4 separate regions of the Homo sapiens genome follow, and regions 1, 2 and 3 are each linked to region 4. The links are contacts of gene promoters, found by promoter capture Hi-C in blood cells and fetal thymus (Javierre and others, 2016). All regions are on one chromosome and are shown on one strand. Each heading gives the region's core, a stretch centred on a gene start or on the middle of the fragment in contact. The rest is flanking DNA. Distances are from core to core; before and after follow the strand shown. Region 1 overlaps TXNDC16 (thioredoxin domain containing 16). Region 2 overlaps NID2 (nidogen 2). Region 3 overlaps NID2 (nidogen 2). Region 4 holds the start of PTGDR (prostaglandin D2 receptor).

Region 1 (7,717 bases), core at 1,092-3,591, 210 kb after region 4:
AAATAGCTGAGACTTAATTAAACTAAAGAGCTCTTGCACAGCAAAAGGAACAGTCCAGCAGAGTAAACAGACAACTCACAGAATGGGAGAAAATCTTCACAATCTATACGTCTGGCAAAAAACTAATATCCAGAATCTACAATGAACTCAAACAAATCAGCAAGAAAAAAACAAACAATCCCATCAAAAAGTGGGCTAAGGACATGAATAGAGACAATTACAAAAGAAGATATACAAATGGCTAATAAACATGAAAAAATGCTCAACAACACCAATGATCAGGGAAATGCAATTCAAAAACACAATGAGATATCACCTTACTCCTGCAAGAATGGCCATAATCAAAAAAATAAAAAAATAATAGATGTTGGCGTGGATGTGGTGAACAGGGAACTCTTCTACTCTGCTGGTGGGAATGTAAACTAGTACAACCACTGTGGAAAACAGTGTGGAGATTCCTTAAAGAACTAAAAGGAACTTGATCCAGCAATCCCACTACTGGTTACCCAAAGGAAAATAAGTCACTATATGAAAAAGATACTTGCACACGTTTATAGCAGCACAATTTGCAATTGCAAAAACATGGAACCAACCCAAATGCTCATCAATCAACGAGTGGACAAAGACACTGTGGTGTGTGTGTGTGTGTGTATATATATATATGTATATATATATATATATATATATATAATGGAATACTACTCAGCCACAAAAAGGAATGAATTAATGGCATTTGCAGTGACCAGGATGAGACTGGAGACTATTATTCTAACTCAGGAATGAAAAACCAACCATCACATGTTCTCACTCATATTTGGGAGCTAAGCTATGAGGATGCAAGGGCATAAGAAAGACAAAATGGACTGTGGGGACTCAAGGGGAAAGGGTGGGAATAGGGTAAGAAATACAAGGCCACAAATTGGGTGCAGCACAGTATATACTGCTCAGGTGATGAGTGCACCAATATCTCACAAATCACCACCAAAGAATTTACTCATGTAACCAAACACCACCTGTTCCCCAGTAACCTATGGAAATAAAAAAAAATTTTAAAAAAGGAATGGTACACTTAGGGTTGAGTGTCTAGAATCAATTTCTTGAGTTTTCAAAAGCTTCAATGTATAAATAAGTTGTACATCAGTACATAGTTTCCACTAAATGAAACAAAATTTATGAAACTCTATTATTCATTTATCCAACAATTATTGAAAACCAGATATTCTGCAATGTAAGGCAATATGCCAAGCCCAGTAAGCTGATATAAGGCACACTACCTAACCATAAGGAACTTACATCAAGCACACCTAATCCATTATTACCTCTCTTACTAACAGGCCTCCCTCATTTTCCCCTATGTCTTTGCTGAGATGGTAGCACAGATATTTTCAGTTAAAGTCCATTCCTTGGATCTTTATTTGCCCACTATTAAATGAGGTTTCACAGGATGGTTAACATAAAAAGATCCTGGATATTAAAAAGCATTCCATCCATGAGGAGTAAACTATATAGTTTCAAGGACACGGGGATTTTTGATCTCTCATTAGACCATGAGACTGGGTCTTGAATCTGCCAAATTTTTATTTCCAGTATTTAACTGGAGTAACTGGCACAGAGTAGGCACTCATAAATGCTTGCTGAATGACTGACTTAAACCAAAAAGGTTGTTGTATTAACTGTGTAGCCACAAGTACTAAATACATAGGCTTTCTACTTTCTACTAAAGACAGTTCTATGAAGACAAATCAAAGTGAATGCTCCTAAGCACTCTTGAAACTCCTGGTTCATTAACTTAACCCTGGAGACACAAACATAGTAACTGAAATTTTATGTGGTTTTCTATATTTTTTGCATGACATAGTTTTACAAATAGCTACAGCTTAGAATCAGAATAATAAGCATGCATAGCACAGTACACTACCTTTCAGTTTAACTGCCACATCAATATAGGATTGCAAAAATGCCATGGATACTGCTTGCCCTATATGAAAATTAAAAATTCAACAGATATTACATGTATATCTACAAAGCATCCACACTGATATGTAACAAATATACAGATTTATGAGGTTTCCCAAAATTATTGTTAATCAGAAATATTCTACTATACATTTCTCAACATAGTCCAACCACTTAAGAGAGTTTCAAATGCAACTGATTTTCCGCACTTGTACTGCAAGGAATATAGCTAAATGGCTATGATTTGAAGATAAAAGCAATATACTTACTATAAATCTATAATAACTGTTAATATGTTAAAAATCATTAGCGTGAGTCACAATTTTTCAAAATTAATGAACATCTAGTTTAATCATTCACCTTTAATTTGTAAATCAGATATAAATCAATTGCACAATCCCAGAATCAGAAGTAAATGCTTCAATGCACACAGTCTACTTGAGACATACGAAAGCAATTTCATTTTACAACATGCAATACATGGAATGCCAAAAATTAAATCTGGGTTTTTAAATGTCCTAATATGTAACAGTCCTCTAAAGGCTCATACTCACAACCAGCATAGAAGAGTACTATGCTGTCAGAAGCCATCACTGTTGCATTAAATGTTTCTTCTGTTAGTTCCACTGTAAGTTCCAAAGGTAATTTTCTCTTCCTATCTCTGAAAACAGTTTCTGCCACTTCATCATCCTGAACATCTAAAATGTTGGAAAAGAAATTAATTTAAATATTGATGTATAATGAAAACTATTTAAGCTCTTCTCATAGGAAGCATATAATAATTCAGTACTTTATACAAACTTTTGAATTCATCCTATCTTAATAGTTAGGATGCATGATATTTAGAAAACTTTGCAGTTGCTTAACTGACTCTGAGATGCTTCCTGACCTAGAAGTTGGGAAGTTTTAGTCAATTTCAAAATTAAAATTTGTTCTACAAAGAATATTAATAGTGCCATTTTGTTTATTTTGCCTCTACTATATGCCAAGCATTATGACAGGCACTAGGAAAACTGGTAAACAAAACAGACATAGTCCTGACCACATGGAACTTCTATCTATGGAAAAGTCAGATAAACTGATCACTGAATAAATATATAATTATAAATTATGATCAATTTATGAAGAAAGGTAAAGGATACACTGAGAGATTATAACAGGGCTATTTAGATTGGGAAGCCCAAAGTCTGCCAGGTAGAGAATCAAGAAAAGAATGTTTTAGACAAAGACAATAACATATACGAAAGCTCTGAGACATAAAAGAGTTGAGCACATACAAGGCTGAGGGAAGGCAAATTTGACTAAGACAAGATGGGGCTGAAAGAATAAACAGCATGAGAAAACTCTAGGCTAGGCAGTGGCTAGATCATAAGAGGTCACATGAGCCAAGAAGTCTGGATTTTATCCAAAAAGCCTCAAGTTATGAGTGGATTCTGAATATGTGAAACCCTTCCTTTAGATAGACCAATCAATAGACTGATAGATTCATCCATCCATCCATCCATCCAACCATCCATGTACCTTCAAAAATACATTTGGATTCATAAATATTCTGTTGGAAGTTTGTAGAGATTGTACGGTAAGACAGATGGAGCATATAACTTGATTAAAGGATAAAGCTTCTTTATGAACATGAAAACATGAACATGAAAAGGAAAATAAAACTCAGGTAGGCAGAGAAGAAAGGCAGTGGTGGCATAAAGAGCAAAGAGAATGGCATGAGCAAAGGCACAGTGGCATGTAAGAGCATGGTGCAATCAGAAGTTCAAACACTGACTGGATATACGATGGTATTAAGAATTGTTAATTTTTTAGATGTAATAATAGTATTAATTATGTTAATGTTAAAAAGGAAAATCCTTATATTTCTGAAACCCAGGGAAATACTTATAGATGAAATTACATGTTTTGGATTTGCTACAAAACAATAAGGGGGGGGGGTGATTGGAGCAGAATGAGCCATGGTTTGATAATGGCTGGGGCCAAGTAATGGATAACAAGAATTTGTTCTATTATTCTCTCTCCGTATGTTCGTAATTCTCTGTAACAACACATTAAAAAGAAAGAAGGGAGAGAGAAGACAATACATTCATAGAACTAAAGTATTGTTTTATACATAATTTCTAATACAGTCACGTACCACATAATGATATTTCAGTCAACAATGGACAACATATACAACTGTAGTCCCTTAAGATTATAATAGAGCTGAGAAATTCCTATCATCTGGTGATGTAGTGGCCATTGTAACATCGTAGCACAACACATTACTCACATGTTTGTGGTGATGCTGGTGTAAACAAACCTACTGTGAGTCATATAGCACATAAGGCCAGGGACAGTGGCTCACACCTGTAATCCCAGCACTTTGGGGGGCCGAGGTGGACGGATCACTTGAGGTCAGGAGTTCGAGGCCAGCCTGGCCAATATGGTGAAACCCCGTCTCTACTAAAAATACAAAAAATTAGCAGGGCATGGTGGCGCATGCTTGTAATCCCAGCTACTTGGGAGGCTGAGGCAGAACAATCACTTGAACCCAGGAGGTGGAGGTTGCAGTGAGCCGAGATTGCACCGCTGCACTCCAGCCTGGGCGACAAAAGTGAAACTCTGTCTCAAAAAAAAAGAAAAAAGTACAGCACATATAATTATGTACAGTAAATAATACTTGATAATGATAATAAAGGACTAGATTATTGGTTTATATATTTACTATACTCATCATTAGAGTGTACTCCTTTCACTTATAAAATAAAAAGTTCACTGTAAAACAGCCTCAGGTAGGTCTTCAGGAGGTGTTCTAAAAGAAGGCACTATTATCATAGGAAATGACAGCTCCATGCTTGTTACTGTCCCTGAAGACCTTCCAAAGGGACAAGATGTGGAAGTGGAAGAGAGTAATATGGATGATCTTGATCCTGTACAAGCCTAGGCTAATGTGTGTGTTTGTGTTTTCGTTTTTAGAGAAAAGTTTAAAACGTAAAACATAAAAGTTTTAAATGGAAAAAAGCTTATAGCATAAGGATATAAAAAAAGAAAATATTTTTGTACAGCTGTATGATGTGTTTGTGCTTTAAGTTTAATGTTATCACAAAACAGTCAAAATGTTTTTAAAAATTGTAAAAATGTATAAAGTGAAAAAGTTACAGTAAGCTAAGACAAATTATTGAAAAAAAATTTATAAATTTAGTACAGCCTAAGTGTACAGTATTTATAAATCTACAATAATGTAATGTTCTAGGCCTTTACACTCACTCACTGACTCACCCAGAGCAACTTCCGGTCCTGCAAGCTCCATACATGGTATGTACCCTATACAAGTGTACCATTTTTTATCTTTTATACCATGTTTTTATTGTACCTCTTCTGTGTTTACACGTTTAGATACATAAATATCTACCATTGTGTTATAGGTACCTACAGTATTCAGTACAGTAACATGCTGTATAGGTTTGTGGCCTAGGAGCAATAGGATATATCATACACCCTAGGTGTGTAATAGGCTACACCATGTAGGTTTGTGTAAGTGAACTTTATGATGTTTGCTCAATGAAATCACCTAATGATGCATTTCTCAGAAACTATCCTCATCGTTAGGAGACACATGACCATACAATAAATTAAAATTCTAGATCTGGATTTCACTACAACCTCAGCCATTTTCTATACGACTCTAGTCAATCACATAACTCTCTGGGCCTCAATGTTCAACTCTTGTGAAGCATGAGAGTTGCACTATATAACTTAAAGGTACTTTTAAGCACCAAATTCCATGACACTAAAAATTACATTCTCAATACCAAACTTAGTAAAGACCTATTTTCTTATTTACTGTATTTTTTTCTTATTATTCATATATTTTCATTTTCCTGTCAGTCTTCTGTTTCTTTTTCCTCCTTTCCCTCTTTTCTTATATTCTAAATAAGCTACCATCACTTGTACATTTAGTCACTCCTCAGCTCTACCTTCAACCTATTCATTAATAACATACACACTATTTTCAGTCACACATGCTGCTTTTTTTTTTTTTTTTTTTTGAGACAGGGTCTCACTCTGTTGCCCAGGTAGGAGTGCACTGGCAAGATCTCAGCTCACTGCAACCTCCAGCTCCTGGGCTCAAGTAATCCTCCCACCTCAGCCTCCCAAGGAGCTGGGATTACAGGCACATACCACCATCTTGGCTAATTTTTGTATTTTTTGTAGTGATGGGGTTTTGTCATGTTGCCCAGGCTGGAACACATGCTTCTTTTCTTTTTTCAGATTGCCCTTCTGTGGAATCTAGTCTTTTTCATTCTGATTCCATTTTGCTGATTTTCTCTGGGGTGCACCTGTCTCTGATTTACATTCTCAGATGGTAATAAATTCTTTCCTAACCCTTATCTAGTTTTCCTTTGTAAACGGGAGTGATACAGAGGGAGGGGGAAGAATTAGATACAGGCACAACACCATACAACATTCTGGGCCAGTATGGATTACTGATAATAGGAAGTTAAGATGAAAAATAAACAAAAAAGGCAAAGCTGCAAAAGAAATACTAGAAACAGGCTGGAGGTTATTGAATGTTTCCAACACAAAGAAACGATAAATGTTTGAAATGATGGATACACTCAATACCCTGACCTGATCACCATACATTGTATGTATTGAAACATCACTATGTACCCCACAAATAGGTACAGTTATTATTGGTCAATTAAAAAAATGGAAATAAAAACCAGAAAGAGAAGGCAGCATCAGAGGGTAAGTAAGGCCACAGAGTCAGGAAACAATATAGAGGCTGTGGCCACAAAGAAATCTTCAAACAGGCGACTCCCACTGAAGACAGGAATCAAATAAACTGAGACTAGGGACAAGTCCTCTAACTCTGAAGGTTCAAATATAGGAACCATTACAGGAATAAGCAGGAAACAAGAGACCAGAACACAGGTCTGCTTATGTAATGACAAGCCCACTGAGAACTCCAGAGAGGAACACAAGCAATTCTAACCCCTGCATATCGGAAAAGAACCAGAGCTCTGCTCAAACCAAGAAACTGGTCACTGGTAAGAGTGAAAGCTCTTACTAAATTTATAATATAGATTTTGATCACAATGCATGGACCTCATGAAAATGATATGTAAATTGCTTCCTTCTTGGAGCTCATAATGGTACTATATAAAACATTCAAGTATTTACTATATATGTTATACAAAAATGAACAAGACATAATCCTTGATTTAGAAATATTTATAGACTAGCAGAGAAGAGAAAAAAGCAAATGAATAATTACAGAAGAGGATTAATGTTATGAAAGATGTATCAGAAATAATTATTTCACTATTGCCCAACTGTTACACTTAAAAAATATCAAATTTTAGGCCACTAGATTATTCTAGCGAAGTATTCTTGACTGTCACTAATAATAAGATTTTATTTCAGGATGCTTAAGTTCTAGCCCAGTCCCTACCACCTGCTACTTGTGGGACTTTGGGCAGATCACTGAACTCAGGAAATGCAGACTCTTCATGTATAAAATGAAAGTGGTATCAGCTAACTCAGAGAATAATAATCAAAGTAAATAATATGTGGGAAAAAGAGTTAAAAACTATACAATACTTCATAAATGTAAGCAATACATTTTTAAAAAACTGAAATAACTGTTTAAACGAAGTGTTAAAATGTTACTGAAATTTACTTCTTATACCATTAACAACTGGATTTATTTACAAGTACAAATATAACAATATTTATTAGAACTCCATTTCCTAATAAAAATAGTAACAAT
Region 2 (6,853 bases), core at 1,650-4,149, 220 kb before region 4:
CTCCATCTCAAAAAAAAAAAAAAAAAAAAGCCGTTTTCATAATATTCAGATAAAAATCAATCCAAACTTTACAAGCTGTTCTGCCCACAAATTAAGGAAATAACAGGCTTGGATTGTATCTTATTTCAGTTATTTTGTGAAGCCTTATTCTGCAACCCAATTCTTATTCTGAGGCTGAATTATGAAACAAGGAGAGAGAAGATGGAGGAGAGACAGTCTAGATATGGAGAGTTAAACTAGGTGGAGTCATAGCTTTTATCTAAGTAAAAAGAGGCAGGGCGATGCAGCCAGCAACTTACAAGTGCAACTGTGCAAAGGTTTATAAATAGATTGGAAGCTGTACTACATTTTTCTATTACAGAAAAAGAAGTTATAACAATGAGCAGGCTCCCATGAAAGGCTATTATGAGACTTAAACTGTAATTACAATGGGCTAACTAGTTACTGTTAAGCTAACCTGGGAGTCTTTTTAAACAGTTTTGTGGAATATTGTATTTTTAGGATGGTACTTACTGAGCCAAGAACACACACTGTCTCTTTCAGCTTCATAACAGCCACATGAAGGAAAGAAGATGGATCAGCCCCTAATCCGGGGGAAGGCAAGCCTCCATTTATAATCCCTCTTCCACGCCTGCCTTCATACCCAAGTGCACACACAGGTTTGCACACTTACCATTTACAATGGCAGCTTGTTAGGTGAAAGGTAAATGCTTCTTACAATTTTTGTTCATTCATTCACTAATTCAACAAGTATTTACTGAGCATTCACTATAGACCTGTACCTAGTCTAGAAACTGAGGACATGGCAGGGAGCAAAAGAGACAAAAATTCACATCCTGAAGCTTACATTCTCCCCAGCAGCAGTCAATAAACAAGTAAATTACTTAGTGGGGTGGATGTGTAAGAGCTGTGCAAAGAAATACAGCAGAGAAAGACAAGAGGGTGGGAGGGGGCAGGTGTACATGGCTCTTTTTAATAGCATGGTCAGGGAAGACCTCAGGAGAAGGTGACTGAGCAGAGGCCAGGAGGAGGTGAGGGAGTGAACCCCACAGATGAGGGCAGGCGTGGTGCTGTGTCAGGCAGGAGGGGTGTGTGGGCATGTGGGAGGGATGGTGAGAGAAGAGGTGGCCTGGGTCATTCATGCAGGGTCTCAGAGATCACAGGAAGGATTTGAGCTTTCATCTGAGTGAGATGGGAAGCACTAGAGGGTTTCGAGCAGAAGAGTAACATGCTCCGACTACAGTAAATCAGACAGGAGCTGGTCCCTTGGTGGTAAGAAGTGCTGGTACAGGGGATAAGAAGGGCCCAGGTCTGGGATATTCTGAAGGTGGAACCGAGAGGGTTTGCTGGTAGACTGGATGTGGGATGATGTTCAGTCCTGATGTGGGAAACCAAAAGGGTGGAGCTGCCAGTTACTGAGATAGGGAGACTGAGGAGGAGCAGGTTTGTGGGGTTCAGTTCTGACAACAGCATGAGGCATCAAGGAAATTCACCAAGGGGTGAATAACAACTTACACCCTCAGCACAGCACCATGCAGTCCTTCACACGGAGAGCTGCATTTCTCCCGGTGGATTCCAGAGACCACTGCATCAGGATCACCTGAGATTTCTGTTAAAAATGCAAATTCTGAGGGCCCACCTTAGACCTACCAGTTCCACTCTCTGGGTGCATCCTAGCAATCTACACTTTAGCCACCCCGCCAGTGATTCTCACACCAATTGGTGTTGATAGAAGGCTTGGGATACAACAAGCCTTGGATTTCTGAGCTAGGTGTTGCTCATCAATGTCGTTAACAAATTTAATCTGACCAATTGGCAGCTCCTGGGGTGGGCAGAATGTTAGGAAATTTCTCGTGCTCATTTCTGGCCACCTGAGAAGCTGAGCTCAGTGCTTACGGCCCATTTGGGCATCCATCCACAAGAATACAACGTGAAGATTCTTTAGTGAAAGTAATACAGACGCACAGCAGCCAGATAGCCCTTCCCTGAAGAAGGGGGAGACCTGGAGCTAGAACGGTGCTGAGCCCACGTGCAGCTATTTATCCAGGGCGAGAAAAGCCAGACCTCCGGCCAACGTGACTGCTCAAATTTCTATGGGAATTGCAGTGAAATTCAAAGAGGCTGAACTTCTTGAAGGCTGGGAATCAAGATCTGGATCCCAGCTAGATGAGATGTGCAATAAACCCACCCGAGGAAAAGTGGCACTTTTTCTTTTCGGTGGTCATTTTCATGTCCCTATCATGGCTTTGAGTGTATTTTCATGCACTTCTTCCTATTCTAGTTAGAAGATATCTCCATTTTATAAATGAGAAAATTGAGGCCTACAGAGATGAAACAATCTTCTGGCTCTAAATCCCATCAAATTGAGGGGGCATCAGAATCACTGAAGTGCAGAGGAATATGGCAGGGTCAGACAAGAGGGTGAGAGAGGGCAGGCACACCTGGCTCTTTGAAATAGTATGGTCAGGGAAGACCTCGGGAGAAGGAGACATTTGGGCAGAGGCCTGGAGGTGTTGAAGGAGTGAGGTGGCTTAAAAATGCAGTTTCTGGTTCAGAAGGTAGAGGAGGCGCTTGGAAATCAGTGTTTTTAACCAGGCTCCCAGCTGAGTGAGAGGAAGGTGGATGAGTGCCCACACTTTGAGAAATACAGTTTCTAGTCCATGGCCTCCTCTGGGACCCACACTATGCCAGGAAGCTCCTGCCACGGAGAGTCAGACCATAAAGAAGTTTGCTGACACCTCAGGGCACAGCAGGAGGGTGGAGGCTGGCCAGGTTTGAATGAACTCATTTTGTCATGGATTTGTTAACTGAGGTTTGATAGTTGCTAAAGGATTCTTAACATGAAGATTTTTTAAATCTCTTTTTTTTCTATTTAATGTTTTTTTTGTTTGTTTTTAACTTTTCTCATGTCCTTAATAGAAAGAAAAATGGGGTGGGGAGATATCAGAGGAAAGAAAGAAATGCCCTGCCAAAGGACTTGAGACTTGTCCTAACTAGGAGTTCGTAACAAAAATGGAAAATTCTCCTCTGCACTTGTTCTGAGCCATCTTTCAATCTTCATTTTCCCAGAAACACTTAAGCACCTGTCTGCAGCCCTTGGCCGGCCTGCCCTTCTTCACAGAAGGCCCTGGGCCAGACACAGGGGAGGTTCCATGGTGTCGACTGGGTTCACTGGGCCAACACAGAGGGACACAGGAGGCTTCGTGCACAGGGCTGCTTCAGGACAGCTGGAGCAACTACTAACAATTTTTACTGCTACCTCAAAAAAAAAAAAAGTCATTTTCACCGCAGGAAAAATTCTTCTAAGTTTTCCCATCTCTCAGAATGACAGACTAGTTAGAAAAACCATATCCAACTTTATAACAAACAGTGGAATGCTTTTTCGTCCAGTTTTCATGTTTGTTTAATTTTGATGTGTGTGGCATGTAATGATGCTGGTGGCAGTGATCACGACCCTGGGGGTGGCCTTTTACAACTGCTGGCATGACACTAACAGGCTCTCTCCACTTCTGGTGAAGGGAGAGGGGCCCTACCATGGAATCTCCTCATATAGGTGTCTTCACAGGCATCGGGGGGCGGCGGCTCCTGGTCACAGACCCTCTGCAACCTGGAGGTGCACCCAGGGGATGGTCTTTGGCACCTGGAGGGTTGCACTGGCAGCAGAACCTGCTTAAATTCTTCTCAGGGTGGAAGTTGAGCTTGCAACACACTCCTGCAGCCTTTCACAAGGCCAAAAGTGGAGTGGGACTACATGAGGTTTCTGAAAGCCAGGTGTCCTTCCTCCTAACTCATCATGCAGATTGAGATTAAATTAAGCTGCGTATAGCACTGCCTCAGCAGGCTTAAGAATAACTAAGACCCCTATCAGTAAACCTCATTCCTTTCTACTCACAACACAGGCAGTCCCATGGTCCCAGGCAGCTGAAGCCCTCACTGGCAACTCTCTCACCCCACTGCCTTAATCAACCTTTGTCTCTGTCTCTCTCCCTCCTTTCCTCCCTCCTCATTCCCATCTCTGCAACTCCGCTCTTGTCACTTCTCTGTTCATAATGTTTTCACACATTCTCCCTCTCAGACTTTGACCCCAGGCCTGGCTCAAGCCCCTCCTTCCTCACAAAGACTTCCCCAACAGCAGTGACACTCCTGGACAGTGCCTTTGACTCTCTGTCACCCTACAGCTTTCTCTAATTTCTTCATGACTTTGTTGCAGTCTTTGCCCTTGCTAGACAAGTCACTAAGTATTTCCAAGCTCAGTTTCCATCTCTGTAAAATGGGAAGGATGATTGTACCTACCCTACAGGACAACTTTTTTTTTCAGACAATATTTCTCTCTGTTGCTCAGGCTATGCAGTGGTACAATCATGGCTCACTGTAGCCTGGAACTCTTGGGCTCAAGTGATCCTCCCACCTCAGTCTCCCGAGTAGCTAGGACCACAGGTGAGCACCACCACACCCGGCTAATTTTTAAAATTGTTTATAGAGGCAAGGTCTCCCTATGTTGCCCAGGCTGGTCTCGAACTCCCCACAGGGCAATTCTGAGGACTAACTGTGATAATGCAATCTAATGCCAAGTTCTCACTTTAGAGCAGCAGGCTGCACTTAGCAAATGCCAGCCAAAACTTCCACTAGCACCGAGTCAGAGACAGGTACACGGCAGGTGCTTGGGTAACTTTTTGACTTGACAACAAAACGACCAGAGCTCCCTGGAAACAAGACTCCTCAGAGAAAGCATGCTTGCACATCCATCTACTGCTGTTCTGTGGCCTAGGAAGACAGAGCTCGAGTGTGGCCAGGACATTCCTGCCTGGTGTAGATATGATCTGAAAATCTAAATTTCTGAACAAAAAGAAAGGTCTGTAAAATGAGTCCCTAAGGGGAAAAAAATGTAAAAAGGAGTGATATTTTCTGGGCCTTTAACTAAATCTTAATTTCTTGGTTTAGCAAGATGACTACCCTAAAGCTTCAAAGGGAAACTAAAATGTATTGGGCAGGGTGCTTCCCAAGCTCAATTTCAGTTCTTGCAAGTATATGACGAGGTCTTCATTAACTCTGTTTTAGAGCTGAGGAGAGCCAAGGGTCAAACAGACTACATGTCTTGCCCCAAACCACATAGCAGAGCTGGGAGTCAAGGTCAAGTCCAACCAGCACCAAAACCATGTGCTTTCTATTCCATCAGCAGAAAAAGCCAGGCAGATGCCACATGGCTGGGTACTTAGTACCGGACAATGTTCTGTGTCTCTGCCACTCCCACCCCACAGCTTCCCGGAGGAAGCCCACACTTACCAGACAGACCTCTGAGCCTCCAATGTTTTATGTGAAAGAAACAGTCACTGCATCCCCTCAAAAGTATTTAACAATTGCATGCTTCTATACTTCATACATCCCCGTAAATTCTTTTAAAACAAAAACTGGATTTTTTTTGTCTAAGTTTCAAACACTTCTAGATTTCTTCCTCCAAAATGCGTATTAACCAGCTTTTTCACAGGCGTTTTTTGCCATTACCAGGATGTCTATAGTAGACTGCATCCGGCAGCTGATAAATATCATAGTTCATGCCCCACAAGGGTTATAGCTGTGCCTCTGTTCTACTCTATGGCTGGTTCCTGAAGCCTCCTGCACTTTACTCCAGTGATCTCAAGCTCTCAGAGCCCAAAGCAGGGTGTGCAGTCCCTTCTTAACCCTTTAATACATGACTCCATAGATCTGCTTTTTAATATTCCCACGCTCTTCCCAGGGAAGGAAATCACAACCCACAAATGAGAAGGCCATTCAGGAATGCGTCTTTACCTCAAATCCCTTTGTGAAAATCTTTGATACTTGGCCTTAAAATGTATTTAGAGGAAACTCATACTGTAAATTCTGGAGATTCTCAGAAGGATCTGAAGGTTCTAAAGACTTCCAATAAAATTTACATCTTCAACTTCATGGAAATGTGGTCCCTTAGGCACAAATTAATGTGAAACTCTTTAATAAGCACATTCTTCATTCTCTACCCATCCTCCACCCCATTCCCACTGTTTTAAATCTTCTAAAATTAGTAACAGCAGCCACTATTTATTAAGAACCAGTGAGTGCAGACACGAAGCCAAGAACTTCACATACGCTGTCTCATTGAATCCTCCCAAGTAATTCCTGAGAAATCAGAGGCTTATGGGTTACATAAGTTACTTCAGGTCACCCAGCAAGCTTGGCAGCCAGGATTCAAACTCGAAGCCGACACCAATGTACTCCCTCGAATCCTTACACAATGCCACATTAGTCAGAAAATATTTTCTTCCCTCCTGAAATTAGTACCTCTCCATGCAATAGCCTGCAGATAATACCAGAGCAGAACCCAGAAGGCCCTCTCTGCTAGGTCAGCCATGTTTTTGCCACAACAGTGACAGGAAACAGAAAAGGTGGAAAAACATGGAGATTCAGAACAAAGCAGTCACCTCTGACCTCTTTCTTCCTATCAGAGGTCAGATGAGCAGTCCCTGGAACAAACAATCTGGAGTCAGTTTCCCATTCACATCTTTCCATGTCTGATGGGGAAGAAACAGCTGGCATGACAAGTCTCAACAAGGACTAGAAGACTGACATAGACCCCATGTCCATGATAATTAACCACCGCCTGCTTTCGCCATCTCCCTCCTCGCCTCTCAGTCCGATCAGTGGGTCATGAAATGAGGACAAGGCTCCAGGGAGGTTCATGCCACAGCTGCATAGCCATGAACCAGAAATGACAACAGACACAGGTGTTTAGTCATTTTCTTTCCCTGTGGGCTCTCCTCTCCCACACATCACAAGCATATCTCCCCAACCAAGGGAAGCGCTAGGCTTGTCTCACAACAGAGTATGAATCTGGCATGTT
Region 3 (7,613 bases), core at 1-2,500, 240 kb before region 4:
ATTAGCCGAGCATGGTGGCCCATGCTTGTAGTCCCAGCTACTCCAGAGGGTGAGGCAGGAGGATGACTTGAGCCCAGGAGCTTAAGCTTGCAGTGAGCCATGATTGTGCCACTGCACTCCAGCCTAGGTGACAGAACAGGACCATGTCTTAAAATATATATATTTATTTCTACATAATAGTCAATGCTCATTGAGCATTTATGTGTGAGGCATTGTTCTAAACAGATAGGAGGATGCCTGATTACATCCTTCTAACTACATGGTGAGGAAAATACTATCTCCACTTCTGCTGCATCACAGAGAGGCCAAATAACCTGCCCAGGGTTACACAGTCAGAAGAGGTGGATGGAGCTGGAATAAAAGTCTAGCAGTCTGGTTCCATAGCTCATGCTTTCCACCGCTTTGCTGCAACCCTCACTGAAGGAACTTCATGAAGTTATCTAGTCTAAGCCAATGGCACAGAGGTATTGGAAGGAGTGTCAGATGCTCAGGTAGAATGAATCTATCAACTCTGGCACTTCTGTGTACTTCTGAGTCTGCCATGTAAAATGGAAATAGGAACATGTACATCTGCCAATCCTGCTAAAGAAAATTAAGAAAACCCAACAGAACATATTTGAAAGGCAATTCCCCATTGGCAGGTCTACCCAGTCTCTACTGACTGCACTCCTTCTGCCTTCTCAGTGGGGCCACTGTTCATCATTATTTGAGGTTCTAGCTCAACCTCAGTCCCTAGAATTAACTCTAATCTTAGACTCAAAAGATTTCCAGAGCCCCAGCTAAGCCTGTCAGGTTCTACATTGAGCCATCTCTGCTACAAAGGGAGATCCATCTAAGTTGTAATAACTCAGGCTTCTGCCTCATACTTCTGTGCCTGAGGCCCTGTCTTGATAGCCAGCTTAGCATCCTCTGAGTCCCATCCTGCTCACCAGTTCTCACTACTCACAGACACCAGCATCATGGCATCTGTAGGCAGACACTGGCAGTACCACCCATTTTACCACCTCCTCCTGGATTCTCTATCATTTCACTCTTTCTGACCCGTGTCTCCCACCCCACTTTGTACAGAATCTTCTATTAAAATGGAGAAATAACAACAGGAGAGAATCAGGTTCTTGTCTTATACTGAGCCTTCAATGAGGACATGACCCTGTTGTTCTCCATTGTAACAGATGCTGACTCAGGAACCTGGTCTATACTCTCAAGTTAACTTGGCAACCACAACCCCACTGCTATGGGGGGAGACTTGCCCAGAGTGACTCCTAATCTAGATCCCAAGTGCTGACTGCTGCAGCTGACCTCATAGACTGGACTCGCTCCCAAGTCCTTCAGGGTGTCTGGCATTCTCCCCCGTGCCTGCCCTACTGCCCACGTTATGGCTCTTCCAGTGCCCTGTCATAGCCTGCTGTGAGCTGGGATGCCTTGGCTGAGACAGCCTTGTTTTCTGGTAAACTCTTTCCATCCCACTTTATAAGAAACACCACAGTGCATTCTTGTAGTGGAATATTCCCGTATTATTGATTCCCGTATTATTGGCTGAAAATAAGGAGGGCTATGGGTTTATCCTCAGTTCACCACAATGTTGTCGGCTGGAGTAACAGAATCTTTGCCAAAACAAAGGACCAATAAATAATTCCAGCACTTTTTAAACCTGATGAACTATGTCAGCATAAGCCTAGCTCCCTGAAGCATGCAGACATCCTTGGAGGTCCGTTCCTCTGGATCTCTTGGCTGACAGGAAAGAGGCACCGCACTGGGGTTGTGGTTGCCGAGTTAACTTGAGCCTAGACCAGGTTCCTGAGTCAGTCCTCAATAGGTTATAACTAAGGACAAGGTCATGTCTTCATCCATTAGGACCCAATGTAAGACAAGAACGTGATCATCTCCCATCATTTCTCCATTTTAGGAAGATTCTGTACAAAATGCCTGGCATACCCCACCAAAGCAGGAAGTAATTGTCAACATGTTTTGATTTATAAATACTAATGCTTAGCCTTCTTATTCAGTACTTTCCAGCATCAAAATTTCACCATGGCACATTCCAGCAAAGATTAGTGTGTTCACATGGACATCAAGAGCTTACCACCCTGCTAGGCATTAAAAGAAAAAAAAAAAATCTCAGCTCAAAAGTTGACTTGCAAACTTGGACAGGATATATTATCCTACCTAAAATTGAGAAGAAAGTGTCCCTAATTACTCAATACTGATTTAAAATGTATGTCACTGACAGGATTAGTTCCATAATTTGCAATCCCCAGTGCAAAATGAAAATGTGGAGCCCATGGTTCAAAGCAAAGCGTTAAACCAAGCATGGGGCTCTTCTGAGCACAGGGCCCCATTCACTGAACTTGGCTTCCCAAAACATTTTTAAAATACATTTCTAAAACCATTTCACGACTCATTCTCTATGACTTGTAAGCTTTTCTCCTATTATAGTAAGTAAAGAACACAGTATCCTTCTTAAGACATTTTCTATTTCGCCCTCACCCTCTTAAACTGCCTGACTCTCTTAACAGAGGATCTGGAACTAATTTACTCATTTAATCAAGGGGAAGAGCGGTTTTCCTTAAAGGAACAGTCCCTTCAGCTTCACTGCACAGCCCTCTGCCCAGAGCCTCCTCAACTCGCCAAAAGGACCCGTGAAGTGGAAGGACAGGAAGCATTTTTGGATCGTGTTTTATGACCCCACAAAACAACCAACCAACCAACAACAACAAAAAACAGCTGACTCACACTTAAAGCTTAAAGCTCAAACAACTGGTGGGGGGTGGCACTGCTGGTTGAGAAGTCACCGAGGGACAGAGGCTCCAATTACTCACTGGGAAAGACACCCCAGTTCTGCATCCTCGCCCTGGGAAGTCGCACCACACCCACATCAGGTGTGGACAGCTGCGCTGTTTCACATGAATTCCAACAACTATCGTTCCCTCTGGAAAAACTGAGCAGTTCTTAGGAAGATACTGCTGTGTACCAAGAGGGGAAAGAAAAAACTTTTGGGTGTTTCTTTTTTGTTTTTCTTTTTTTCCCTCCTATTCAGGTAGAATGAACAGTACTGCTGTGTGTGGATGAAGTAGGGTTCAAACACAAAGGGTTTAAAAGACACACATTGCCTCTTTCAAAGTTTGGTCTAAATTATGAGGCAGTCATGAGGCCACTGTGGAACAGCAGAGCCATGAGGGGTAAGGGTGTGCGTACTGGAGCCAGTGCCTGAGTTTGAGTCCCAGCTCACCCAGGTCACTTACTATGACCAGGCAAATTACTTCATTTCTATACCTCAGTCTCATCATCTGTAAAATGGGATAACAAATAACCCCACCCCCACCCCACCATTGGGTAGAGGTCATTGTGGGGATTAAATGAGTTAATTCATGTAAGGTGCTTAGAACAGTACTTGGCACCAAGTAAACCATCCTTTGATATTATTATTTGACTGGGGTGGGAGGGAAAATCATAAAATTCTAAAGAAAACAAGCAACTTGGTACCTGCCAGTTTGCTTTCTCTGATCCTTTCTTACTCTCATTTGGTATGTCTCTAGGAAAAATATACCCAGAGACACATCTTTTTCCTAAATGGTTCCAGAATCTGAATGGGACTCCATAGCCTGGGAAATTTCACTAACAGTTGCTTTTACAGATCAGATGCCTACACCCAACACAGGGCTGACCTGGACATTTAAAGGTAAAGACCATTCTCCCCAGTAGGTTTAAATCTCTCTTTGAGAAATCTACTACAGCAATCTTTCCCTTTCTAATTTACATGTTCCTCTAAAATCAACTCACATTTTCATGTGTTCATTTGCTACCTTACAATCCAATATCTGGGCACCTAATGCCTACATTCCCAACCAAGTTTCTTAAAACCAAAGCACCTCGGGATTCTCATTACAAGTCACTTTCGCATCCTAGAAAAGAGTCTAGTCCTTGTACCTTAATCTTGTCATATTGCTGAAGCAACACTTCTTTATTGAGCCTGCTGAGGCTTAAGGAGCCCTCAGCTCCAATAACAAAGCACAGAACCGCGTATCACTTACAGATTCACCTCACTGAGGAGCTAACTCTGGGCTCAACAGTTTCAATACAGTGGCTGAATTGAGGAAGATGGTTTTTTTCTCCTGGTGTGGCTCTTACATTCTAGGGGAAAACATGACCTGGTTTTCAGAATTAAAATGTCCCCTTGATCTGACAAAGCCACTTCCCATCTGTAGAGTTCCCTGACTTCACAAGCTCATCCTCTGGCTTGCTTGAAACATTTTTTAATAATTAAGACCTTGCTTTTTAGGATGGTTTTACATTTAGAGAAAAATGGAGCAGAAAGTACGAGCTCCCATATCCCCCCACCCAAAATGTGCAGTTTCCCCTATTATCAACATTGTGCATTAGTGTGGTGCATTTGTTATCCCCAATCAATACTGACACATTATTAACTAATGCCCATAGTCTGCAGTAGGGCTCACTCTTGGTGTTGGACAGTTCTATAGACTGACAAACGCATAATGGCCTATAACCAACATTACAATATCATACAGAATAGTTTCACTGCCCTAAAAATCCCATGTTCCACCTATGCATCCTTCTCCTTCTTCCTCCTGAACCACTGGCAACCACTGATCTTTTTACTGTCTCTATAGTGTAACCTTTTCCAGAATGTCATGGTTAGAATGATTCTGTATGTAGCCTTTTCAGACTAGCTGCTTTCACAGAGCAACATGCTTTTAAGTTTCCTGCATGTCTTTCTGTGACATGATATGCCTAGAACATTTTAAAATCAGTCTTCACAGGTGAGGCTAATGGTCATTAAAATTTGAGAACCACTGCTTACTTTGAGACGGGGTCTTGTTATGTGGCCAACTCTGGCCTCAAACTCCTGGGCTCAGGTGATCCTCCCACCTCAGCCTCCAGAGTAGCTGGGATTACAGGTGTAAGCCACTGTACCCGATGAGAATGGTTTTAGAGTTTTGTTTCTACTACTATTTGCTTCCATTTATTTTTATTTTTTGAGACGGAGTCTCACTCTGTTGCACAGGCTGGAATGCGATGGCACAATCTTGGCTCACTGCAACCTCCGCCTCCTGGGTTCAATCAGTTCTCCTGTTTCAGCCTCCTGAGTAGCTGGGACTACAGACACATGCCACCACACCTGGCTAAATTTTTTTGTGTATATATATATATATATATATATGTTTTATTTTGTAGAGACAGGGTTTCACCATGTTGGCCAGGCTGGTCTTGAACTCCTGACCTCAGGTGATCCACCCACCTCAGCCTCCCAAAGTGCTGGGATTACAGGCATAAGCCAGTATGCCTGGCCTTCAGTTGAGAAGTAATTCACATACCATACAATTCATCCGTTTAAAGTACATAATTAAACAATTTCGTCTATTCAGTGTTATCCAACCGTCACCACAATCAATTTCAGAACATTTTCATCACCCCCAAAATTAACCCTGTACCCTTTAGCTATTAACGCCCTATGCTCTCATTATCTCTTAGCCCTGGGCAACCATGAATATGCTTTCTATGTATGTGGATTTGCCTATTTTGGATATTTCACATAATTGTAACCATTCAGTATGCTGTCCTTTGTCACTGACTACCTTCACTTAAGGTTTTCAGAGTTCATCCATGTTGCAGCATGTATCCGTACTTCATTCCTTTTTATGGTTGAATAATATTCCAGTATATGAATATATTTTTTGGTGTCCATCAACTGATGGGCATGTATGTTGCTTCCACCTTTTGGCTATTATGAATACTGCCACTATGAATATACACGAATAAGTTTTTGTGGGGATCTATGTTTTCATTTCTTTTGGGTATATAGAAAGGAGTAGAATTGCTCCATTAAATGGTAACTTTGTGTTTCACTTTGAGAAACCACTATTTTGTTTTTCACAGTAGCCACATCATTTTATAATCACACCAGCAACGTATGAGGGTTCCGAATTTTCCATGTTCTCGCCAACACTTGTTATTACCCGTTTTTTGATTATACTCGACCACATGATGTAAAGTAGTATCTCATTGTGGTTTTGATTTGCATTTCCCTGATGACTAATGATGCTGAGCATCTTTACACATGCCCATTGGGTATCTGTATATCTTTTTGGAGAGAGGTCCTTGCAGAGCTTTTGCCCATCTTTTAGTTAGCTTGTTTTTTTATTGAGTTGTAAGATACTTCGTATACTCTAGAACAAATATCACATGATTTAAAATACTGTCTCCCATTCTATGGCTGTGTTTTCACTTTGTTAATAATGTCCTCTGAAGCACAAACTGTTAAAATTTTGATGACACCCAGTTTATTTTGCTGTTGCTTGTGCTTTTAGTGTCGTACCTAAGAAACCATTAGCAAATTCAAAGTCACAAAAATTTACCCATATGTTTTCTTCTAAAAGTTTTAACTCTTACACTTAGGTCTGTTGGCCCATTTTGAGTTGGATATGCTGTGAGGTAAAAGGTTCAACTTCATTCTTTTGTATGTGGTCACTCAGTGGTCCCAGCACCATAGTTAACAATAGTTTAAAAGACTATTCTTTCTCCATTGAATTGTTTTGGCACTGTGTTTTTTGTTTTGTTTTGTCTTTTAACCATCAGAATTCTATTATTATTATACTTTAAGTTTTAGGGTACATGTTTACAACGTGCAGGTTTGTTACATATGTGTACATGTGCCATGTTGGTGAGCTGCACCCATTAACTCGTCATTTAGCATTAGGTATATCTCCTAATGCTATCCCTCCCCACTCCCGGCACTGTTGTTGAAAAAGCAATTGACTTTTAATGTGAGTATTTCTGGGTTCCCACTTCTGTTCCTTTGATCTTTACATGTATCCTTACGCCAGGACCACACTGTCTTGATTACTCTAGATTTCGAGTTTGAGAAATACAAGTCTGACTTTATTCTTTTCCAAGATTGTTTTGGCTATTCTGTGTTCTTTGAATTTCCATATAAATTCTAGAATCAGCTTGCCAATTTCTTCAAAGAGCCAGCTGAGATTCTGATAGGGATTATGTTGAATTAATAGATCAATTTGGGAAGTATTCACATCTTAACAGTATTAAGTCTTCCAATCCATGAATGTGGAACATCTTCCCATTTAACTGGGTCTTAAATTTTTTTCCAAAAATGTTTTGTGGGATGCAATGTACAAGTACTGCACTTCTTTTTAAAAATTTATCTCTTTTTGAAACAATTTCTTAATCTTTAGTTTGCTCATTGCTACTATAGAGAAATACAATTTGGTGTACTGATCTTGCATATCTTATAACATTGCGAACTTGTTCTTTAGTTCTAATAGTGTTTTAGTGAATTCCTGAGATTTTCTACACAAAATGTCATCTGAGACTAATTTTACTTTGTCCTTTTCCAATTTAGATGGCTTTTATTTTGTGTTCTTGCCTAATCACCCTGGCTAGAAATTCTAGTACTGAATTGAATAAAAGTGGCAACAGCAGACATCCTTGTCTTGTTCCTAAGCTTCAGGGAAAAGCATCCAGTCTTTCACCATTAAGTATAATGTTCTGGGAATCATGGAGGGGGAGGTTATACATCAAGTTCTATGATGTTTGGTTTTTCCAGATACTAGCTCTTTGCTCCACCTTAGTTTTGGATG
Region 4 (6,753 bases), core at 3,180-5,679:
CAAATAGCAAACAGATGCCAAAATATTTGGGCAGACCACCACAAGACATTGTGTGACCCCAAAAACACAGGGCACTGACACATGGTCTGTCCCTGGTGGTAGTTCTGCCTCTTGACTTCTGAGCAGATAGAGGAAGTGGCAGGATCTCTCCTTTCTCTCTCACTCTCTGGTCTTCTCTGCAATTCTCTTTCTCCAAGGCAGAGGCTTGGGGAATCCAAAAGACCTGGATGCCAATTCTAGACTCATCACATACCAGTTGTGTGAACTTAAACAAGTTATTAACCTCTCTGAGTCTCATTTTCCTTATCCAAGAAAAGAGAGATAAAGAAAACTTCTGCAGTGCAGTTGGCAGGAATAAAAACATTAATGAACATCACTTACGGAGCCACGCAGAGCATGCCACAGCACAGTGCTTAACATTCTCACCTGAGCTGCACACAGGAATTAACTGGGGAGCTTCAAAAAAGATACTGAAGCCTGGAGGGCAACCCCAAAGAGTCTGATATCATCAATTTGGGGTGCTGAAGCATCACAAAGGTTTAAAGCTCTCCAGGTGATTCCAAAGTGCAGCCAAGATTGCTAACTATTGTTCTATGCAGATTATTTCATTTAAGCCAGATACTACCCTAAGAGTTCAGTCCAATTATCCCCCTTCACCCTCCTTCCCTCCTTTCTACAGACAAGCGGATTGAGGTTTAGAAAGGTTAGAAGATTATGCAAGGGTACACAGCTAGCAAGGGGCAAAGCTGAGATTTAAGTTCACACAGTATGACTCCCAGGACCTAACACATCATGGCCACACTTCTATGCTACCACTCCAGGTCCTGAATGTGAACGAACATCTAGCATGGTCTCTAGCATGCAGAACATGCTCCAAATTTGAGAGCTAAGTTTGTTTATCATTTGTTAGCATCCCTCCTCTCCATTCCTTGCTCTTCACAAGCCCCAGCCCAAAATATCACTTGGAGTTCAGTAGAAGTGAGCAATGGATAAGATTTAGAAGCATAGTTAGAATGGATCCAGAAAAAAATAAATGTTCCTTTTTCCTTCTTTTCCCCTTCCTAGATCCCCACCATAAGCATACATTTCTTGTATTAGTCTGTTCTCATGCTGCTAATAAAGACATACCTGAGACTGGGTAATTTATAAAGGAAAGAGGTCCAACTGACTCACAGTTCCACATGGCTGGGGAGGCCTCACAATAATGGCAGAAGGTGGATGAGGAGCAGTCACGTCTTACATGGCAGCAGGCAAGAGAGAACTTGTGTAGGGGAACTCTCCTTTATAAAACCATCAGATGTTGTGAGACTTATTCACTATCACAGAACAGCATGGGAAAGACCTGCCCCCATGATTAATTACATTTCATCAGTTCCCTCCCATGACCACATGGGAATTATAGGAGCTACATTCAAGATGAGACTTGGGTGGGGACAGAACCAAACCATATCACTTGTTTTACATTTAAAGTCTTTTAAAATAATTATTACATATACAACATTGAAAATATCAGAAACCAAGGAGATATTTTTCTGCCATCCCTTCTCAAGTCTAAGTGAATGTTTTCATTTGCCTATGTCAGCTTCTGAGCCTTGTCCATGAGAATCTATGATTTTTATGTTTATATTGCCATAATATAATTATATATTTAAAATAGTCATCCACATGATGTCATATATTTTCAGAAGATTTGTCCTATAACCCAATTAAGCAGCCTGGTACAGCTCTGTAGATAATGGAGGTAATTTTACCACTAACTTAGCCTAAGATATTTTCATTAAAGGTTTCCCTTTTAAGGAAAAAATGTACTTAGCCTGGTTACTCTGAAAGCTGATATAAAAATGTATAAGCCTGTAGAGGTCACACGACATGATGTTTGCCTTTCCTTATCTGTTGTATGCCCCTCAGTGCCCACATGCTTCATCCCCTCACCCCCATGCTTGGCACAGAGTAGGAGCGCAAAAACTATTTGACGCATGAACAAATGATACTTTTCTTGGTTGTATGGTGAAATTACAAAATAGAATTTCTCGGGAACTGGGACAGAAGACTCCAAAGTTAGGCCTGAGAACAGGGTAGGGTGGACACCAGCAAAGCAATCAGGAAAGGCAACCGGAAACCCCATCGTAAAGGCCAGCTACAGTGGCTGAGAGGAAACGTGTGGTTTCCTGAATTGCACTTGTTCAAAACCTTCAACCTTAAAGCATGATGTATGTAAACCTTATCAAGGACCCACAGCTGGCCCAACAGTCACACTTTGGGGTTGTTTTCTTTAAAAGGTATTTGTAATCTTAGGGTTCCTAGGATAAATACGGAGTTGTAAGCCACTGTAGCATGAAAATAAAGCTGCAAAGAATTGAAGTAGGTATGCTTCAGAAGAACAACCCATGCAATATTTTTAGAGGAAGGATTCTTAAGCTAGTGTCCATTGGGTCTCCTCTGGGTACCATAGAAGGGCTTCAGGAAATGGTGAACAGCCTGAGATTGATGTAAAGTGTGTGTGTGTGTGTCTGCGTGTGTGTCTGTGTGTGTGTGCCTGTGTGTGTGTGTGTGTCTGTCTGTCTATGGAGGAGACCACAGCTTTCATCAAATTCTCATGTCTTTTGGTTATGGGGCCTGCTCTTCCTTTCACTTCATTAAGTCGAGTGGGGCTCTTCTAAACCCATTCTTATGTGCTAGGGGCTAGAGATGGGAATGAGAGAGAGTAGGTAGAAGACAAGGGAACTAACTCTATACAAGGCCTTCTATTGAGTCAATATAAGTGAAAGGCTTAGAGAGTGTCCAACCTGCATCAGGACCAATAAATATTAGCTCTTATTATTATTATTACACTATGCCAAAGCACTTCAAGTTTTCTCAACCTCACAACAACCCCACAAGTTCAGCATAAGTCTCATATTCCATTAGGTTGAACAACTAACCCAGGGTCACACAGCCAGTGGTGGAGTTCAGAACTATCTAATTCCAAGCTTAGATTCTTCTTTTCCACCCTGTGGCCTGAATTACTGGCCAGACTTTCAGTCTGGAGGCAGCCTCTCTGTCTACCCTTCAGGCTTTCACATCTAAATCCCAAGGGTCTTGCTCTTTCCCTGAGTCTGTCCATCAGAACTGGCATGAGGCCTAAAAATGAGCCGTTTCAAGCCCAGGCATCATCTACTCACTTACATAACAAAACCTTAGTCATCCCACTGAGATTCCACACTCAAAGCCAATTTCTCTCACAGGGCATCGAATGCTAGTTAAAGATATAAAATCACGCTTATCACAATTAACTCCCTTGCCTTTATGATGCAGCCAAGTCAAAGCCCAAACAGGAATAAATTTTTTCTAGTAGCCACAAATCAGAGGAGTGAGAAAGCTCTATGCCAAATCTACCATTTTCTGATTTCAAAATCCATGCTAAAAACTGCAGTTAAACATCAGCTACCAAAACACCCTTCTATCAAATAAGAATCATGGTGATTGCATGAATTGAGCACTTTCTATGTACTTGCTCTTTACGTGTTATTTCTATGCCTCAGAAGAGCCAAGCAGGCCAGATAGATGTTACTGCTTGAGAGGCTAAGCAAGTCCCATAAGGTCACACACACAGTGAGGAGCAGAACCTGGACTCAAACCCAGGCCTATCTGATGACAGCAACAGTGCTGCTAACCATGCCCTTCCCCCCAGCTCTCTACAGTCAATGTGATTCATGGCACCCAGGACCAACACCGGCTCTTGGCTTTCCCACAAACCACTTCCCTGAAATCTGGACAACTTCTTGGGAGGAGGAGTCATGGGAACAGGACAGATGAACTCCAAAATAGAAGATCGGGTGAGAGGTCCGGCTCTGCTACTTCTGTAGCTCTGTCACCACGGGCAGATCACTTAACTTTCCAAGGCCTCAGTTTCCTCGCCTATGCAATGGAGATGACCGTGAATGCCCCAAATTGCGCTGATCTAGTAGAGAAGAGGAGCTAAGGCTCAGGGGCTTTCCAGACGTGAGTTATCTTTACCTTTCCTTGACTAGCTAATTCAAGACAACTAGGTAGAAGCCCTTTCTCAGCCTCCCCTCTTCGCTCATCTTTCGAGTTCTTGGCCACCCCAGTTCAAACACCAGCACCATTGCCCTCCTCTCAGGTGGCTGCTGCTTAATTTCCCCTCCACTTTAGTAGTTCTTCTCTTGCCTCGCTAGAAGGACTGGTGTTGGGTGCTTGGAATTCTGGCTATTTTCCTCCTGCCGTTCCGACTCGGCACCAGAGTCTGTCTCTACTGAGAACGCAGCGCGTCAGGGCCGAGCTCTTCACTGGCCTGCTCCGCGCTCTTCAATGCCAGCGCCAGGCGCTCACCCTGCAGAGCGTCCCGCCTCTCAAAGAGGGGTGTGACCCGCGAGTTTAGATAGGAGGTTCCTGCCGTGGGGAACACCCCGCCGCCCTCGGAGCTTTTTCTGTGGCGCAGCTTCTCCGCCCGAGCCGCGCGCGGAGCTGCCGGGGGCTCCTTAGCACCCGGGCGCCGGGGCCCTCGCCCTTCCGCAGCCTTCACTCCAGCCCTCTGCTCCCGCACGCCATGAAGTCGCCGTTCTACCGCTGCCAGAACACCACCTCTGTGGAAAAAGGCAACTCGGCGGTGATGGGCGGGGTGCTCTTCAGCACCGGCCTCCTGGGCAACCTGCTGGCCCTGGGGCTGCTGGCGCGCTCGGGGCTGGGGTGGTGCTCGCGGCGTCCACTGCGCCCGCTGCCCTCGGTCTTCTACATGCTGGTGTGTGGCCTGACGGTCACCGACTTGCTGGGCAAGTGCCTCCTAAGCCCGGTGGTGCTGGCTGCCTACGCTCAGAACCGGAGTCTGCGGGTGCTTGCGCCCGCATTGGACAACTCGTTGTGCCAAGCCTTCGCCTTCTTCATGTCCTTCTTTGGGCTCTCCTCGACACTGCAACTCCTGGCCATGGCACTGGAGTGCTGGCTCTCCCTAGGGCACCCTTTCTTCTACCGACGGCACATCACCCTGCGCCTGGGCGCACTGGTGGCCCCGGTGGTGAGCGCCTTCTCCCTGGCTTTCTGCGCGCTACCTTTCATGGGCTTCGGGAAGTTCGTGCAGTACTGCCCCGGCACCTGGTGCTTTATCCAGATGGTCCACGAGGAGGGCTCGCTGTCGGTGCTGGGGTACTCTGTGCTCTACTCCAGCCTCATGGCGCTGCTGGTCCTCGCCACCGTGCTGTGCAACCTCGGCGCCATGCGCAACCTCTATGCGATGCACCGGCGGCTGCAGCGGCACCCGCGCTCCTGCACCAGGGACTGTGCCGAGCCGCGCGCGGACGGGAGGGAAGCGTCCCCTCAGCCCCTGGAGGAGCTGGATCACCTCCTGCTGCTGGCGCTGATGACCGTGCTCTTCACTATGTGTTCTCTGCCCGTAATTGTGAGTCCCCGGGCCCCGAGGCAGCAGGGCACTGAGACTGTCCGGCCGCGGATGCGGGGCGGGAAGGGTGGAGCGGATCGGGATGGACGCGGCGCCAGGCGAGCTGCGCCCTGGGCCAGGAAGGTTTGCTGCTGAGTTCCCCAAATTGGATTCCTTCCACAGCCCCGAGATATAACTCAGTTTGCGGAGCGAAATGAGGGAAAGTTAGAGAAAGGAAGGGAAAGGCTGAGCCCGGCGGTGTCTCCCTAGCCCAGCAAAACCCTCTCCATGTGGCAGAACTCCCTCCTCTCTGCTTCCTTCTGGGGAGATCTCGAGGTCATTTTTGCGCCTTAGGAGGAGCAGAACTTAGTTTCTCCTTGGCAACAGGAGTCTTCTACTTCCCGACGGCTGGGTGATGTTTTATTTTGTTAGACCTGCTCATGACTTCAGTGGTATCAGAAATGGGCGAATGGCGTCTGGGACGATCTTCTCCCCGGTGTTGGCATAGAAAGGGAAAAAGAGGTTTAAGCCAGCCAGAGTGATTTGCAGATGCATAGTTTTAATTTTGAAAAACGCGTGCGTAAACTTTGAGACGCCACGGCTGCTGTTTCTGGTGCTGCATCCGCCAGGGATTGTGGCGATGGAGGCCGAGGCTCTTTGTATGTTTTAGCTGCTGGTGTCGTTTTGACAACCTGACTTGACGGGTTTTGAGTGTATCTTGGCAAGTGAGGTGACATGAAAGCCATTATCTCCGGTTTCAATTTGGTAATGAGGATAGCGATGGAAATGAAATTATCTCCTCATTTTGAAGGCATTTGTTCCTGGAGTCCCCGCCAAGACACCTGGGAGTAGGTGAGGCTTGAGGAAACATTTTCAGTGCTGCTCCTCTCCTTTCTCCCAAGGTACCTGTTCAACAAAAACAATACTTACAGAAATTCCATTGCCAATCCCACGTTCTCGAAATCCTGAGACTTCTGTGAATAGGAAAGTTGTTAAATTTCTTCTCAGAATGTAGCCATTTTGGATATTACTTTCAATGGTGAATGAAAGGGAAATACAAAGCGATTTTCCTTTAAATGAAGGCCTTACTGCTTGCGGAAAAAGAAGTCTGGGGCATCAGCATGCAGGGGTGGGAACAGTATGCCCCCAAAATAAATAAACAAATACATAAATCTATATCTATCTAAATGTAGATATAGGCGCAGATGACATATAGCAGTGGTCTTCAGAATCACCAGCTCAGAATCACCAGCAAGGCTTCTAGAAAAAAAGATGGCTGGACCCCATTCCCCAGAGTTTCTAATTCAGACATTTTTAAAGAATTTTCATTCTTAACAAGTTCCCAGGTGATATGCAAGCTCAGATTCAGGGTTCACATTTGT

Evidence for each region. Contacts are between HindIII fragments. The CHiCAGO score rates a contact against its expected background, and 5 or more counts as called.
Region 1: a fragment that was not itself captured here is called in contact with the fragment with the promoter of PTGDR in region 4 in 1 of 17 cell types (monocytes); the score reaches 5.2 in monocytes.
Region 2: a contact is called between a fragment that was not itself captured here and the fragment with the promoter of PTGDR in region 4, in 2 of 17 cell types (total CD8 T cells and M2 macrophages). The highest score is 7.5, in total CD8 T cells.
Region 3: a contact is called between a fragment that was not itself captured here and the fragment with the promoter of PTGDR in region 4, in 1 of 17 cell types (total CD8 T cells). The highest score is 5.3, in total CD8 T cells.

Annotation. Positions count from the first base shown.
Region 1 is chr14:52,480,312-52,488,028 of GRCh38, forward strand. TXNDC16 (thioredoxin domain containing 16) reads right to left here. Exons shown (of 21, transcript NM_020784.3): 13 at 2,511-2,654; 14 at 1,919-1,978. Among named protein-coding and RNA genes, the nearest start is that of TXNDC16, 68 kb to the right of the region's middle. The HindIII fragment of the contact is 2,463 bases long and covers 1,111-3,573 here.
Region 2 is chr14:52,046,314-52,053,166 of GRCh38, forward strand. The region is part of intron 5 of NID2 (nidogen 2); the gene reads right to left. Among named protein-coding and RNA genes, the nearest start is that of NID2, 19 kb to the right of the region's middle. The HindIII fragment of the contact is 4,118 bases long and covers 841-4,958 here.
Region 3 is chr14:52,030,701-52,038,313 of GRCh38, forward strand. All of the region lies in intron 9 of NID2 (nidogen 2), which reads right to left. Among named protein-coding and RNA genes, the nearest start is that of NID2, 35 kb to the right of the region's middle. The HindIII fragment of the contact is 2,333 bases long and covers 85-2,417 here.
Region 4 is chr14:52,263,269-52,270,021 of GRCh38, forward strand. PTGDR (prostaglandin D2 receptor) reads left to right here and starts at 4,430. Exons shown (of 2, transcript NM_000953.3): 1 at 4,430-5,392. The coding sequence starts at 4,547. The HindIII fragment of the contact is 7,987 bases long and covers 2,968-6,753 here.